Regions from separate parts of the Homo sapiens genome. Here all the other regions are linked to region 1. Evidence: promoter capture Hi-C in human tissues and cell types (Jung and others, 2019). All regions are on one chromosome and are shown on one strand. The core of a region is centred on a gene start or on the middle of the fragment in contact, and the rest is flanking DNA. Distances in the headings are between cores, read along the strand shown.

Region 1 (3,717 bases), core at 541-3,040:
TTTGCTTTTCCTATGATTCAACCATTACACTCCTGCCTAAATAATCAAATGGCATTCTTGTGCATGGGGCAAGAAGATGTGTACTAGAATGTTTGCAATAGTACTATTCATTTTAGGAAAATGTAAAAATAACACAATGTCCATAAACAAGAGAAAGGATTAATGAACTGTGATATGTTCCATGACAAAATATTGAACAGCAGTGAAAATAAAGAAACTATATACAGCAATGTAGATAAATCTTAGGAAATAATATTGAGAAAAAAGAGTAAATCATACACTAAATTTTGTGTGATCCTATGTTTATAAAGTTCAAAACCAAGCAAAAGCAAATAGTGCACTTATAGAGACACCTATGTAACAAACTATTAAAGAAGAGGAAGAGATTGATGTAGCTAAAATTCAAGATGGAGGTCACCTCTGGGAGAGACCTTAGGAGGTAGAATAGAAAAGCATTCCCTAGCTGGATTCAGAAATACCTAATATTTTAATCCTTAAATGGGAGGCATATTGTAATTTATAAATTATATCTGCCACATCTATTTTTGTATATGTGTCAAATGTTACATTAAAAAATAACATAAGCCATTTAGTTTACCCTAGTTAAGACCCATTCCAATAGTAGTCATTAGATCCCAGAGTCCCAAGAAATATACTGAAGTGTCTACTTAATACAAGTTCTATTATGTTAGGGACCACTACATAAAGGAACAAGTTACAAGCACAATGTTTAAACAACCAGAACCTAGTTCTTTATTTAAACATTACCTGCCGCTCAGTGACCTCTGAAGGATGATGTTGTCTTGGTCCTTCCTATATAATAAACAAAATTAAAACACATTCACACAAAAAAGTCATTAAAAACAGTAAATTAATTATTATAATAGGAAGCCTATGCTACTTTTAAATTTATGTATTATATGAATCATTTCAACTATAAGAAGCAGGTTAAAAAAACAAAAAGAAAAAAGTCAAGTTCAGAATAAAAACATCTAAGATAAAAATTGTGGTGGAAGATGGAGACGATATTATGATAAAAAAGAACCAGCTGTGAACCACCTTACAGATAAAAGGCAGAGTATAGAGATATATTCGGGAGGGAAAGAATGTACGAGAAATCGAAAAATGCATGTTTCTGCTTCTACAGGACTTCAGTGGTGCTATTGAGCAATCTAGTCTTCAATCTGGTTTCAAAGCCTAGGAGTAATTGGTGATGTGATTGAGATCGTATGGTTTTCTGAAGCACAGGGAGCTTGGCTGTTAGTTTTCGAGATTCTCACCACTTCCTCTATTTCTTGATTGTACCTTAAATAACTCCTCCTTCACTCGTTTTGATCCAATCTTTTAACCAGAAGACCCAAGAGCAATCTGTTCCACATCTGGCAATTGAGAACTTTATCCTGCTCCCTACTTCTGTAATTTCCACTCCACCTCCTAGGGCAGGCCAATGGGGCAGTCAACATACAGGTGATGTACCTGACCCCTAAGCACACAGTGGGTGGAGCTTTTTCTTGTTTCAGAGGGGTCCAGCAGTCAGGATGTAGTCTGTCTACATCACCTGGAATTTCCCAACCCCCAGCACCAAACCACATTTACAAGAGTTAGAAGCACCATGGCCAAGGCCACAGTGGCCTGGAGCTCAAGGCACAGGACAGAGTGGCAGAGTTGAGGTTGTAGGCCCCAGCAGACTCACAGGGTTGACTTGGGAAGGCTCGATGTCCCAGCAATACAGGCACATGCCGTGGAGCCTTAGGGCGCCCCCTGACGCCTACTGCCTGTCCTGGACCAAATGATTATGGGGCCCCACACCCACAGCCTTCAAGCCCTGCCCCACCCAGTTCCATCACTATTCTCTTTATTCTTCTCCCTGCTATGGGCCCCACCCTTTCCCCAGTTGTATTCCAGTCCAGTGCAGGGAAGGCAAGGCCTCAAGTTGTCTGCAGTGTCTTTGAGTTATGGAAGTCAGTTTACCATAATTCCTTATATCCTATCCTTCTTCCTCAGAAAATTGCAGAATACCAATTTCCCACCTTTTCTACCCTTCATCTCTCTAGTCTCTCTCTTTATAAAGCCCCTTTCATTTGTTAACATATCTAGCTTAGTCTCCATGTTCTCTTACTTCAGACTGTCTATCTATTGTTAGGGTTCTCAATTCCACCACCTCATTGTTGTTCCTTCACAGCTTCTAGTTGGGCTGACCCAACTGTCTGCCTTCTTCCCATCTATCTATACCAGATGAAGTGAGGAGAAGCTTGAAGATGGCTGGAATACATATTTGTGACCCCAGATCTATTTATTTATTTATTTTCTTTTTTCTTTTTTTTTTTGGCCAAGTCTCTCTGTCGCCCAGGCTGGAGTGCAGTGCTACAATCTTAGCTCACTGCTACCTCCACCTCACTGCTACCTACACCTCGAGGGTTCAAGCAATTCTCCCATCTCAGCCTCCCGAGTAGCTGGGACTGCAGGCGCATGCCACAATGCCTGGCTAATGATTTTGTAGTTTTAGTAGAGACAGGGTTTTACCATATTGGAGGCTGTTCTCAAACTCCTGACCTCAGGTGATCCACCCGTCTTGCCCTCCCAAAGTGCTGAAATTACAGGCGTGAGCCACCAGGCCCGGCCGTGACCCCCAATTTAAACTGGGTCCTCAAAGCTGCTTAAGACTTTTATGTTGCACCAGCTTTTTTTGTGCTCTGCAGTATTCCCTTCAAATTGTCTTCTATTAAAATCTCTGAATCCACCAACACTCAGGCACTTCCAGTAGAAGTGGGACAATCCGTGCTTCACACTCTGATGCTGGTGAACATGTATAGAGCTTACTATGCTCAGCACTGTTACATGAATTTATATGTGTTAACTGATCAAGTCTTTAGACCACTCAAGGTGGGTAAGGGCATGATTATAATCACTGGGAAACAAGGCGCTAGCATGTTAAATTGCTTTCTTGAAGTTACGCTATTAGTAAGAGGGTGAGCTGGAATTTAAATCCAGGGTTGGCCCTTAGATCATGTGCTCCTAATTATGTGCTATGCTACCATTGCTTTTGAAGCCCTCACTGGGGCTACCTCAATACCACCTAAAATCCTATAACCTTGTCAATATCCACATTATCCTTTTCCCTGTAACCCTGTCGAAATGGAAAAAAAAATTGGTATCCCTTCTGTTGCCTCAAATAAATCTATCCATTTGCATTTGCATGCCATTTCCCTCCTAGGAGCCTCCTCAGATCTAGCTCTACAGATTGTTCCTCTCCTTGTTAACTTCTCTATATTGCCTCTTTCCTTTAAACATTTCATTACTGTAAGTTCAAATCTCCCCCTCTCCAAACTAATAAAGGAAACTCCTTAGAACAACAACCAATTGTATCTATTGCCCATCCCCTCTATATAAAGTAAATATTCATGAGAGTGGTCTGTACCTCTGCCTCTTCTTTATGTTCAGTGTAAGATTTGGCTTACTGAAACCTGTTTCAACTCCCACTGTTCCACTGGTGCTTTTCTCAAAATGGTTAATCAAATGATCTTTCTCCTGAATTCAATGGACAGTTTCTATCATATGATTTTTGTATCACGTTAGAAACTGCTGAAAAGTCTTTCTGATGAGTTAGGCTTAGAAAAAGTAAACAGTTTTGCCCAACTGTAATGTTCAAAATCATTATCCATGCTCTTCTTGAAACTCCCCTCTGGGAGCAATAAGTTGTAGAAAAATCATATAAAC
Region 2 (3,717 bases), core at 322-2,821, 35 kb after region 1:
CAAAGACCTTCCCCCAGGCCCAACCTCTAACACTGGGAGCCACATTTCAACATGAGATTTGGAGGAAGCATGTATCCAAACCATATCAACTATCAACAAGGAAATTTGTTCACAGAAGTCAATAGTTTGCTTAAGAAACAAAAATAATAAATAACAGAATCATTACTAAAAACCCACAACCTACCTCAAGACTCATACTGTTTCCACTCTGCCATGTTGTTCTTCTGTAGCTCTCTGGAACCACAGAAAATATGTTTACAACATTGTTGTTAGGATCTTTTTAGAAAGTCTAGATGTAGCACACAAGAAATGAGGAATGAGTCCACAATTATATTTTCATCGATCATCCTGAAACCAGCTGAATAGATAGTATAGTCAACCTGCATCTCACTCCTCCAGATGAATTAGGAATCTCTTAACCCCCTTCCAGGAGAACTGAGGCCAGTGTCTTACGTGGAACCAAGAGTGAAATATGTTGAATTCACTGAATAACATCTTACTGTCTCTTCCGTCCTGGTATGTAAAAGAGGAGGATGCTAAGGCTGCAGTAGCATTCCTTAATGGTGCTGTAGGGCTACTATTTCCTCTATTCTCCTTTCACTCACTATTATGCTGTATCCACTATCTACTGGGCCCCAAGGCAGCACTGTTTTCTGCTGGACACATCACTGGGGGTAGAGAGGTAAAGAATGTTCTTCCTCCTGCCTGAAAGATTCTCTGCGACTTAGAGAAAGCTCCTATATGTCAACAGTTGCAAGGTCCAGAACAGGGAATTCATTTATAATGACACATTTTAGACATGCCCACAGCAGCAAGCCTAGGATCGTTTTGAAATGTGTCAGTGTCATGGTGTCATTCAGCCTTTGGCTTTGACACTAGCCATGGTGTATACGTAGTATAGGGTATTGGTCTGTAGCAACCAAGTTTGGGTGGCAGAAGCAATTTTAAAATCTCCCAGCCTCCAGGGGGTATATCTGAGCACTGATTCAGAGACAAGGAGAGAGAAAACATACATTTTAGACAAGAGTAAGACTTCATATATGGGGAAGGCTGCAGTGGATTAGAAACACCGGATCCTCTGATAAGCTGAGAATGTATGAATGCAAAGGTTGTGTTTCAGGAAATGTATTGCAGACTATTATTTATATCCTAAGTTATATAGTAGGTTATTTCAGTTCTCATATGTTGATGCATTTAATTATCTAAAAATCTGATGAGAAGATACTACACTACTTCCATCTCCATTGTCCAGAAGACAAGGCTAAGGACTGGAGATGTTAAGTAATTATTACAAACTAAGTAGTAGATTTATACTCAGAACCATGTAAACTCAAGTCCTGGGCTCTTCTTAAACATAACATTTTATGTTACTAATCAGCCCGTGTTTTTCTTATTCTGGTTGAGGGTATCATCAAGTTGCTCATTGTCTTTCCACCCTTAGTCATTCCACGTATGCATTTCAGAAGGGATTCATAGCACTAGCTTCACAATTTCTCCCTTGGACAACCACAAGAGGCATCCTTAAAACTCTGAGAGAAAACTTAATACAGTTCATACAAAGAAAGAAAACCCAGCCTCCTCACCCCTTGACCTTCCTCACTGTCACCAAAACTAATGTTTTGTTGTTTCTGGGGGGTTTTTTTGTAAGCTTAAAAGAAAAATAATTTATTGTTTCTTATTATCCTGTGGGTCCAATGGGCTCAGCTGGACCCTTTTGCTGCATACCGTGAAGGCCAATTTATGCATAGGGCTGCACTCACCTGACTGTTCCATCCAAGATGTCCCCTCATGTTCCGGGGTCTTAGTATTTTAAAGTGGTAATCATGACCTTTAAATGGATCTTGAAATCAATTTAATGGGCCAATTGTATTAGTCTGTTCTCAGGTTGCTAATGAAGACATACCCGAGACTGGGTAATTTATAAAGGAAAGAGGTTTAATTGACTCACAGTTCCACATGCCTGGGGAGGCTTCACAATCATGGTAGAAGGAGAATGAGGAGCAAAGTCACATCTTACATGGCAGCAGACAAGAGAGCTTGTGCAGGGGAACTCCCATTTATATAACCATCAGATCTTGTGAGACTTATTTACTACCATGAGAACAGCATGGAGGAAACTGCCCCCATGATTCAATTATCTCCACCTGGCCCTGCTCTTGACATGTGGGGAATTATTACAATTCAAGGTGAGATTTGGGTGGGAACACAGCCAAACTATTTCAATCACGACCTGCCTTAACTACAATTTAAAAAGGATTGACTAAAACATAGATGTGAGAGCATGTCACATCCAGTAACGGTAGTATGATGTGAAAGTTTTTCCATTTCAGCTCTGTATAATGTGGATGCATCTAAATGTAAAATAGCCACTGGTAAAGTATTGTGAGACCCACTGTAGAACACCGCAATTCACCATAATCTTGCCTGAGCTGAGGAGGGCAAGGAATAGAAGAATGGTCATCTTAGAAAAATAGGGTACAGAGGCTGGGCGCGGTGGCTCACGCCTGTAATCCCAGCACTTTGGGAGGCCGAGGCGGGCAGATCATGAGGTCAGGAGATCGAGACCATCCTGGCTAACATGGTGAAACCCCATCTCTACTAAAAAATACAAAAAAATTAGCCGGGCATGGTGGCAGGCGCTGACAGTCCCAGCTGCCCAGGCTGAGGCAGGAGAATGGCATGAGTCCGGGAGGTGGAGCTTGCAGTAAGCTGAGATTGCACCGCTGCACTCCAGCCTGGGCGACAGAGTGAGACTCGATCTCAAAAAAAAAAAAAAGAAAAATAGGGTACAGAGAAGGAACTTTGTCATGAAGTCTAATACTGCAAAAATACATTAGTTTAGAAAAATAAAAGACCACACAAACACACACACACACATTCATTCTTTGGTTCAGAGCCATCAGTAGCTTATTGGTGATCTCTGACACGAGGCAAATATTCCCTCACATTCATTCTAATTCTGCACATTTCATATAACCTGCTGAGAAAAGATCTGCCTTTCTGGGTAACTTTCTACTCAGAAGAAGCACCTTGGTTCACAGACTCAGACCTTCTTATCATTAAGAATACTTAATGGAAATGGAAATACTTAATAACAAATGGAAAAGTGTGGAATCCAGGTTTATCTTTGTCTCTCATTTGACCTTTGTTTGTGAAAATTGGCTATCAGAAGAAAATGTTATTTGGGGGAGAAGAAGAACATTATAGCCTCTAAGTGAAAGAGGGGCTCTTTCAGCACTGATTTCGCAGTGATCAGCAGAGATTTTGCTCCAGAAGCGGGCTTCACCTTCTTCCTCAGCCTCATTAGCTAGCTGCGCCGGGTTGTAAGGCTCCTGAACTAAACGCTGCAAGACAGGGTACGTGACACAAGTTTAGTAGCATTTCCTAGGAAGAAGCTAACAGAGCAGGAGAAAAAATGCTTCCATAAAATGTGCATTTCTGTACGAAATACAGAATAATAAATGTGAGGTGTAGCAATAGCACAACAAGCAATTTGTAGTACTTGGATATCTAGCAGCCCCAAGTCAGGGCAGAGTAAACCCACCTGATCCTGACATACACTGTCAGATCAATACCTGCAGATGATGTTCAACAATGAAGTTGCCAAAATTATACACTGCTTCCTGTATACATTTCTGTAAGCGACTATAAAACATTCAGAAAAGCTACATTATAAACAGTAAAATACTGATGATTCTGACACTAGTTGGGTAAGTA
Region 3 (3,717 bases), core at 832-3,331, 34 kb before region 1:
GGTTTGGCAAGGTCTTTTCCTTCTTGAGTTAAGAAAATATTCCATTTGCCCCTTTGTTTAATGAAGTCTATTAAATCTGTGATAGGTCCTGAAGAGCCATTAGGATAGAACCAGAGATATTTGGCAATCTCTTGATAGTGTTTTCCAAGTACATCCAAGGAATATTATTGGGTGTTTTATATATATATATACACACACACATATATATATATATACACATATATATACGTATATATATATGTATATATATACGTATATATATACACACATATATATATAAAATCTATGTTTAAATAAATTTTCAACATTAAAGATTAATCCAAGTAAACTTGCTTTTCTTCATTGTACAATTTCTTAGAGGCCATAATTCTGTGCCTTTTTTAGTCTCTAAGAAGGGGATATAGTCTACAATATACAATTTAGCATTTTTAAACATTTATTCCCATGGGACTCTATCTTCCAAAACATCTCTCTTAGGACAAGTGTTATAAACGCTAGGATAGTGATTCTCAATCTGGGTTCACATTAGATTACCTTGGGAAGCTTAAAACAGTCCTGATGGCTAAACCCTACTCTCAGAGACTGACTGGTGTGAGGTGGAGCCCAATGAACAATCCTTTTTGAAAGCTGCCTATGAAACTCCAACATGCAGCTAAGGTGGAAAGCCATTGTACTAGAGGTCTACCCTTACTCCCGTGCTGCTATATCCTGTACTGATAGTACTTTGCATCCTGATGCCATCATCACATTGACTTCTTCAGGTAAGAAGTCAGAAGACAGCATTACCCATGCTAATTACCCTGGAAAGATGCAGCACTGGTCAGGAGATGAATAGGTGAAAGGCATGAAGACAGGGAATGCAAACTAGACTCATACTCTAGGTAGAGTCAGGTCAGAAAGACTCTACCTAGGGAAGAGTCTTCCTAACCTTCCTACCTTAGGAAGACTCTACCAATACTTCAGGCCAGCCCATGAAACAAGCCAGACAGCAGCCATTAAAGGACCATAGGCCAAGCGTTTTGAGGGTTAAGTACTTCTGCCTTGTATTTTTCCCTTCTGTTATCCCTGAGCCTTCCAGAATTTTTTCACTTCATGCTCTTGACATGTTGTGCATGTGTCAAGCAGAATGGAGCATGCCACTTGAAGCTAGTGTGGTAGTGGTAGGTGATGAGGAATATTCCAAGGAAAAATTACTCACAGTGGACAACAGCAGTGGCTAATGACAGTGAGCCACTGGAGAAAATCCTCCTGCCACTATATAGTTTCAAGGTCCTGAAGGTCATTTTTACTAAGTGAGTTTGAGAGATTTCTTACAAGAACAGTACACAAAGAAAAACAGAAACTAAATTTAACTTTGGGTATGTTTTACATTTTGAGCACTTTTGAATGGATTGTAAGTAATATAAGGCCTAAATTTTTTTTTTAATCTATAGACTTCAGAGTGTGGAAGCTTCAAGTTTAAGAAAGCCTCTTTCTTTATTATACTTTAAAAGCTGATGTTAATTTCATTAGGTTAGAACTTGTGAAGTGTCTTCTTAATTATGATTAAGTGTTGATTAAATTATCCTTTTCCTATAACATTACGTATGACTTTAACTTAATACCTTCACCACTTCTACTGTGAAATAGTGGATCTCATTATTTCCAGTCCTACAATTTAACTTTTGTAATTTTGTGTTTGTTTTTGACAACCCTATATGAAGTAAACCTAGTGAAACAGCACTTTATCTCAACAGAATATTGAGATATGATAAAGAATTGACCTCGTTATCACCCAACTGTTTTACTTTACACTAGACCTATTCTGTTCTATTATGGAATTATAAAAAACATAAGCAAAATGGTCAGACTTATTTACCTTATATTGAAACTAATTATATATTGCTAAAAGTTCACCATAAAAAAACTTCATAAATTTTCATTCGTTAAATGATATAAGATGAAGTAACGTACAATAGTAAAATACACAGACACACATTCTTATTTCTGTGATATTCTTGAGCCAGAATCAACTGCTCAGGGTGTTCATAAACTGCCTGCCCCACAAGTTACGAGAGTATCTACATGTAGGCAAGTGTATGTGTATATGTCCATGTATATGTATGTGCATGTGTGTGTGTGTGTAGTTTTGAGAGAAAAAAAACCAATAAATCTGTTGAAAGGTACTCATAAATCATTGACAAGTTAAATATAAATGACTGAAATTAAAGACATTGTCCTTTTCACAAATATACTACTATTTACTTTAAAAATGGACCAAGAATAAATTCTTAATATCTGAGCCATTATTTTCCTGAGCTTTAAGGGATTTTAAAAATAAATCCTTTAAAGTCCTGCTAGAGTGTAAAGACTCCAGCATTCAGAGACTCTGCTTAACTTGTCCACCATTATATTCCCAGTGTCTAGCTCTGGGATCCATATCTAGGGAGGTATGTGTATGATACCCACACCTGTATACATTCTGTAATCCAAATTAACATTTACATAACTATAATAAACAGGGGCAATGGAAAGATCAAAGATTCCAAATCAATGCGTAAAAGAGCTCAGGCCATAAAACAGAACTTATAGCGTAATCCAATTTAATAAGATATATAAATGAAGGTTAGAAATTATGTCTGTCAAAATGGTACTTAGTTTGGATGACTTTTACACTTCTTTATACTTCTCCATATTGCTTGAATTTTTGAATTATTTAAGATTAGTAGTAAGCATAAGAGTATTAAAATATATATAGTGTTAAAATAATAAATCTATTATTTCATTTTGGGGAAAAAAGCTAATTGATTCCAATAAATGTTAAAATAAATTGGTATTACTTCCAATATTTACTACTCATGCTTTTAAACTATTTCAAAATTTTCTGATAATACATTTCAGGAGAAAATTATGAATGGATTGCTACTTAAGTTTTTTTAAAATGCCAGTTAAGTTAATCACTAAGAAAATTTTAATACTTACCCTAAGTCCACCTTCTGGTGGGGGCCCGGATGTAGCAATTTGTTTTTCTATTTTTTCCTTTTTCTTTCTCTTTTCTTGCACAGATTGAACATCTAAAATTCCCCGAGATGCAGCCTTGAAGAAATTTGATAAGAAAAACAGAAAGACAACAAAAATCTGTCCAGTGTGCAAAACATTTTTTTGTCTATCTTTGCTTTCTAGGTTTTTCTTTGGGGGTAGGGAGTTGGTTTATTTTTGGTAACATAGAAGGAGTGTTTCTACAACAGCCTTACATAAAACATCATTTCTTCACTGGGTATTTTGTAACTATACAAATTTTCCCCTAAACTTGCTTCACATCTGTAAGTATTTTACAATGCACAGCCATTTTAAAAGGAAGGATGTTACTAAAAGAGTATCTGAATTTAGAGAAGATATGATAGTTTTCATATATTAATATAAATATATTAATGCAATTCATATAAATAAGGAAATCATTTTGAAAATAATTACATTTAAATGTAAATTTTTGGGATATCAAAGGCCATTTGCGTTAGAAAATCTAGCTATGGACATCTATGAAGAATAAAGTCCAAACTCAATTATCTAAGTAGGCAAAACTTGATCTTTAATCTTACCTCTTTTTGTCTTCTCTCTGCAGCCTCTGCAAGCTTTGCTCTTTTCTCTTCCTAAATAAATGTGTAAAAATATGTATTAAAATAACAAACATTATTATTAATAAATTATTCACATTTATTTCATAGGCACTATAACAAT

Evidence for each region. Contacts are between HindIII fragments. The study calls those that stand out against the background at their distance.
Region 2: a contact is called between a fragment that was not itself captured here and the fragment with the promoter of CCDC179 in region 1, in 1 of the 25 tissues and cell types used here (heart right atrium).
Region 3: a fragment that was not itself captured here is called in contact with the fragment with the promoter of CCDC179 in region 1 in 2 of the 25 tissues and cell types used here (adrenal gland and hippocampus).

Annotation. Positions count from the first base shown.
Region 1 is chr11:22,858,684-22,862,400 of GRCh38, forward strand. CCDC179 (coiled-coil domain containing 179) reads right to left here and starts at 1,791. Exons shown (of 4, transcript NM_001195637.2): 1 at 1,694-1,791; 2 at 769-813. The coding sequence starts at 1,738. All of the region lies in intron 3 of LINC02718 (long intergenic non-protein coding RNA 2718), which reads left to right. The HindIII fragment of the contact is 9,229 bases long and covers 1-3,717 here.
Region 2 is chr11:22,893,859-22,897,575 of GRCh38, forward strand. The region is part of intron 3 of LINC02718 (long intergenic non-protein coding RNA 2718); the gene reads left to right. Among named protein-coding and RNA genes, the nearest start is that of CCDC179, 35 kb to the left of the region's middle. The HindIII fragment of the contact is 6,473 bases long and covers 1-3,717 here.
Region 3 is chr11:22,824,246-22,827,962 of GRCh38, forward strand. It overlaps SVIP (small VCP interacting protein), which reads right to left. Exons shown (of 4, transcript NM_148893.3): 2 at 3,579-3,629; 3 at 2,962-3,075. Among named protein-coding and RNA genes, the nearest start is that of LINC02718, 3.3 kb to the right of the region's middle. The HindIII fragment of the contact is 6,049 bases long and covers 1-3,717 here.